Regions from separate parts of the Homo sapiens genome. Here region 2 is linked to region 1. The links are contacts of gene promoters, found by promoter capture Hi-C in human tissues and cell types (Jung and others, 2019). All regions are on one chromosome and are shown on one strand. The core of a region is centred on a gene start or on the middle of the fragment in contact, and the rest is flanking DNA. Distances in the headings are between cores, read along the strand shown.

The links. The method cuts DNA at HindIII sites, captures the fragments that hold promoters and counts their contacts. A contact is called where the count stands out against the background at its distance.
Region 2: a contact is called between a fragment that was not itself captured here and the fragment with the promoter of ANGPTL4 in region 1, in 3 of the 25 tissues and cell types used here (dorsolateral prefrontal cortex, heart right ventricle and spleen).

What each region holds. Positions count from the first base shown.
Region 1 is chr19:8,362,813-8,365,463 of GRCh38, reverse strand. ANGPTL4 (angiopoietin like 4) reads right to left here and starts at 1,309. Exons shown (of 7, transcript NM_139314.3): 1 at 825-1,309. The coding sequence starts at 1,142. RefSeq lists an enhancer at 1,643-1,692. The HindIII fragment of the contact is 14,542 bases long and covers 1-2,651 here.
Region 2 is chr19:8,506,624-8,509,274 of GRCh38, reverse strand. No RefSeq gene overlaps it. Among named protein-coding and RNA genes, the nearest start is that of PRAM1, 5.3 kb to the right of the region's middle. RefSeq lists an enhancer at 2,344-2,651. The HindIII fragment of the contact is 8,917 bases long and covers 1-2,651 here.

The DNA of each region.
Region 1 (2,651 bases), core at 60-2,559:
CTCTGTCGCCCAGGCTGGAGTGCAATGGCATGATCCCGGCTCACTGCAACCTCCGCCTCCCGGGTTCAAGAGGTTCTCCTGCCTCAGCCTCCCCAGTAGCTGGGATTACAGGCGCCCACCACCACACCCAGCTAATTTTTGTATTTTTAGTAGAGACGGGGTTTCACTGTGTTGGTCAGGCTGGTCTTGAACTCCTGACCTCAGGTGATCCACTGGCCTCGCCCTCCCAAAGTGCTGGGACTACAAGCGTGAGTCACCGCACCTGGCTTTATTTTTATTTTATCGCTATTATTTTTTTGAGGAGTCTCACTCTGTTGCCCAGGCTGGAGTGCAGTGCTGCGATCTCGGCTCACTGCAACCTCTGCCTCCCGGGTTCAAGAGATTCTCCTGCCTCAGCCTCCCAAGTAGCTGGGATTACAGGCATGCACACCATGCCAGGCTAATTTTTTGTATTTTTAGTAGAGACGAGGTTTCTCCATGTTGGCCAGGCTAGTCTCGACAGCAGGTGGAGGCTCCGTGAGCCACTGCGCCCGGTCGTTTTTTAATTTTATATTTATTTTATTTTATTTTATTTATTTTGTGTGTGTGTGTGTGTGTGTGTAGAAGAGACGGGGGTCTCGCTATTTTGCTTTAGGTGGTCTTGAATTCCTGGCCTTGAGCGAACCTCCCTCCTCGGCTTCCTAAGGGGGGAGCCCATCCCTTGACGCAGGGAAGCCCAGGGAGCCACAGTTGCGCACCCCGCCCCCACGCCCCACTCCTGTCCATACCCTTCCAAGCCAGGAGAGCCACTAGGGGCGCGGAGAACCAGCCCTGGGGACACGTACCTGCAGGCTGTGAAGGACCTCAGGGTCCACCCGGCTCTCAGGGGCTAACGGGAGGTCGGTGGACCCCTCGGTTCCCTGACAGGCGGACCCGCACGCGCTCAGGCGCCGCTCCAGCGCGCTCAGCTGACTGCGGGTGCGCTCCGCGTGTTCGCGCAGCCCCTGGCCGAGCTGCAGGAGTCCGTGCGCCAGGACATTCATCTCGTCCCAGGACGCAAAGCGCGGCGACTTGGACTGCACGGGTCCGCCCTGAGCGCTCAGTAGCACGGCGGTGGCGGCGCAGAGCATCAGGGCTGCCCCGGCCGTCGGAGCACCGCTCATCCTCTTAGGTAGCCTGGGAGCGGGGATTCGGGGACTCTCGGGGACGTTGGGGTTCCAGGTGCGAGGACTGGAGACGCGGAGGACCGGGGGTAAGACCCGCTTGGTTGCAGAAGCCGCTGGAAAGAATCGGATCACAGTCGTGTGAGGATCCGCTCAGCTCGGCTTCTCCCCGCCGCGCCCGAGGACGGTTTTTATAAGTTGGGTGCGGAGTGGGCGGAGGAGTCTTGGAGGCGGGGTGCGGGGAGTGCTGGGGGCAGGGCCTGTGGCCGGGGGTGGGGTCCTGTCCTCTGGAGGCCTGGTAGTCTGCGGGCTGGGGGATGCCCTGGGGATGCCAAACTGTGGCTCTCCCGCCCCCGCTCCAGGCTCAGGCAGGCCTTCCTCTACGAACCGTGGGAGACGTGACTCTTCTTTCCCCCACGGTGCCCGCCTCTAGTGTGAAATTGCAAGCCCCCTATTCCGCCCCCGCCTTACCCAGTGGCGGAGAGGGCGCACGCTTGAGGTCAAGACTTCCAGACCAGCCCGGCCAACATCGTGAAACCCAGTCTCTACTAAAAATACAAAAAAAAATTAGCCGGGCTTGGTAGTGCGCGCCTGTAGTCCCAGCTACTCGGGAGGCTGAGGCAGTAGAATCGCTTGAACCCGGGAGGTGGAGGTTGCAGTGCGCCGAGATGGCGCCATTGCGCTCCAGCCTGGGCGACAGAGCCAGAGTACGTCTCAAAATGAAAGAAGAGAAAAGAAAAGAAAAGAAAGAAAAGAGAGAGAAAGAAGGAAAGAAGGAAGGAAGGACGGAAAAAGAAAAGAGAGAGAGGTAGGGAGGGAGGGAAGAAGGAGAGAGAGAGAGAAAAGAGAGAGAGAAAGGAAAGAGAGAAAGAGGAAGGAAGGAAGGAGGGAAAGAAAGGAAGAAGGAAAGAAAGGAAGGAAAAGAAAAAGAGCTGAGTTCAGCGGAGCCCGGAACTCACCAAAAGTCCTTGCCTTGCGGAGGCTTCGTGTGACCTCCATCCCAAGACCAGGAGAGACTTTTCTGGGCTCGCATGTTCCTTCCCGTGAAAGGGTTCGTCATCGCAGCTGTGTTTATGAGATTCTTTGACTTCCATTTCTCCCCTGAGCCCGAAATTATGAGTGCCTTAGCGGCAGGACTTGGATCAGGGCCTCACCCCCATAGCCTACCCTCTACCGCCAGGGTCTTTAATGTCCTGAGCTTTGCCTATAATAAAGCAGGAACTTAGAGAACAGAAAGAGGAGACACAAGGAAGGGAGGAACCAGGGCGGTCGCCCATGACTGTGGTCGCAGCTACTTGGGAGCCTGAGGTGGGAGGCTCACTTGAGCCCAGGAGGTAGAGGCTGCAGTGAGCCACAATGGTGCCACTGCACTCCAGCCTGGGCAACAGAGTGAGATCCTGTCTCTAAAAAAGAAATAAAATAAAAGTCTGTGGCCAGGCGCGGTGGCTCACGCCTGTAATCCCAGCACTTTGGGAGGCCGGGTGGTGGGAGGGGGGGGGGGGCGGATCA
Region 2 (2,651 bases), core at 91-2,590, 140 kb before region 1:
CAAGACCCTGCACTCCAGCCTGGGTGATAGAGTGAAACTCTGTCTTAAAAAAAAAAAAAAAAAAAAATAGCCGTGGTGGCTACCTGGGAGGCTGAGGCAGGAGGATCACGAGCACAGCAGTTCAAGGCTGCAGTGAGCCATCATCACACCATTGCAACCCCAGCCTGGGAGACAAAAAAAGAAAAAATCCCAGGAGCTTCGGGGACAGGCTGGAAGGCTGGTCCTGAGAAAGTGCAGGGACTGGCCAGGATGGCCTGAAGACCCCCAGACCCTGAACCCCATACTGACTTAAGGGGAAGAATCCTTTGGGATTGGGGAGGCAGGCTGGGGACTCAGGTCTTCATCCTCCTTGCTGTCTGCCAGACCAATTTCCACCATGTCCCAGCTCTGAGGAGTGGGGTGGGTCAAGGCCAGCCCTCCATGGCCTGGTCTTTCTCCTCACCCCTGAAGCCAGCCTCCCAGGTATGGAAGTCCCAGGTGATATCCACAGCCATCCCTTGGAAGCTGGTTTTACCTCCATGATCCCTCTCCCTTCTATCCTCATCTCGCCAGCCCCAGGGTCCCCTAGCCCACCCCCTACTCTCCCCAACCTGCCCTTACCCCAAGACTGAAAACAGAAAACAGTCTCTTCTTCCTCTTTTTATTTTATTTATTTTTTTTTTTTTGGAGACAGAGTCTCGCCGGAGTGCAATGGCAGTGCCAGGCTGGAGTGCAATGGTACACTCTCAGCTCTCACTGCAACCTCCGCCTTCTGGGTTCACATGATTCTCCTGCCTCAGCCTCCAAGTAGCTGGGATTACAGGCGCCTGCCACCACCCCGGCTAACTTTTTGTATTTTTAGTAGCGATGAGGTTTCAACATGTTGGTCAGGCTGGTCTCGAACTCCTGACCTCAGGTGATCGACCCACCTTGGCCTCCCAAAGTACTGGGATTACAAGTGTGAGCCACCACGCCCTGCCAGGGTCTCTTCTGATTGTTCCCCTCTCCTGCCCGGCACCCTTCAGTGGCTTCCCATGGCCCTCTGGATGAAGATCCTGTTCTCCCAGTAGCCCACAAGGCCCTACCTTGAACCTCTCGGTCCCCTCCCAGAACAACACTCACTGTCTCCCTCATCCTCCTGGATATACAGACATCCTGTGAGCAAGAACCCAGGGACCTCCTTCACGCAGTCCACCTTGTCTCAATCCTTACCTCCTCCTCCTTTCTCCATTCTCTGAATCCACTTCGGGGTTCCCCCTCACCTCCTCATCCTGGTATCTGCAGCCGAGACACCAGTAACCCCTGGGCGGGGCCCCCAGACCCCACTCCTCCGTCACTGCCCTCCCACCTTCTCCTTGCCCCCCGCCACCCTCCTTGTTGTCTTCCTCAGATTTTTTTTTTTTTTTTTTTTTTGGAAGATGGAGTCTCGCACTGTCACCCAGGCTGGAGTGCAGTGGCACCATCTCAGCTCACTGCAGCCTCCGCCTCCCAGGTTCACACCATTCTCCTGCCTGAGCCTCCCAAGTAGCTGGGATTACAGGTGCCCTCCACCATGCCTGGCTAATTTTTTGTATTTTTAGTAGAGATGGGGTTTCAGCATGTTGGCGAGGCTGGTCTCGAACTCTTGACCTCATGATCCGCCCGCCTCGGCCTCCCAAAGTGCTGGGATTACAGGCGTGATCCACCGCACCTATCTTCCTTGGACTTTTCATCCACCAACGTGTCCACCTCAGGCTCTGAGTCAAAGCCATCCAGGTAGACAAGCCAAGGGCCACCTGCCCCACACCTGCTCAGTGCCATGTCACCTCAAAGATGGACAGCTCTGGGCTCCAGAAGCCCTTCAGCCACTGCAAGGGGCAGGAGGGGATCCTCAGGCCCTTGGGACCCGTCTGTCTGCCCCACTGCCCACCGCCTCACCAGGGGCCTGAAGACTGCTCTGTCCTTGATGGGGCTGTGATGTGACGGGGCAGCAGCCTCAGCTGACGTGGCTTGGGCTGGGTGTCCACTCTCCCAGAACCTGTAGGCCCCAGCTGAGGTGGTTGTCAGGATGGGGTAGGACAGGCCATCAGGAGGCCCCCTAAGCTCCCCCTTCTCAGCCAGAAGCCTTGAAACCACCACTGTGGGACCCTGGAAAAGAGTCGACTTCCCTGCCTCCCAATTCCCTCGTCCTTAAAAGGGTGTCATGATGACTGGTGAGTCCTTTGGGGTGGACGCGAGGATGAAAAGAGAGGCTGCAGGGAGAGGAGGGGCTTGGGAAATGTCTGCTGAGAACTTCACGTCCCGAGCCCATGGCTGCCTGGGACTCTCTCGACCTGGGGAGGAGGGTGGGACAGGGTGAAGGGGCCCATTTTACAGATATATAGAGAAGGTGAGGCTAGGAGGCCTCTAGCCAGCCCCAGTTCCCAGTCAGCGGCACTGATTCTGCACCATCTTGGGAGCTGCGCACGGTTACCACGAGAAGAGAAAACCCTGCCAGCAGGTCCAGAGGACACGCCCCTGTTCCCGCATTCTGCAGGTCCCTAGATCTGGCTGTAGTCCAAGCCTCTCCCCCATCTCCAGGGACAGCGCTGTGTTCTCTGTCCCCCAGGCCCCTAACCCCTCTCCAGGGTCCCGGGGGCCCCCAGGAGTCTTTGTCCCCATCAGTTTCTTTATTCGGCCACCCCCAGATCTAG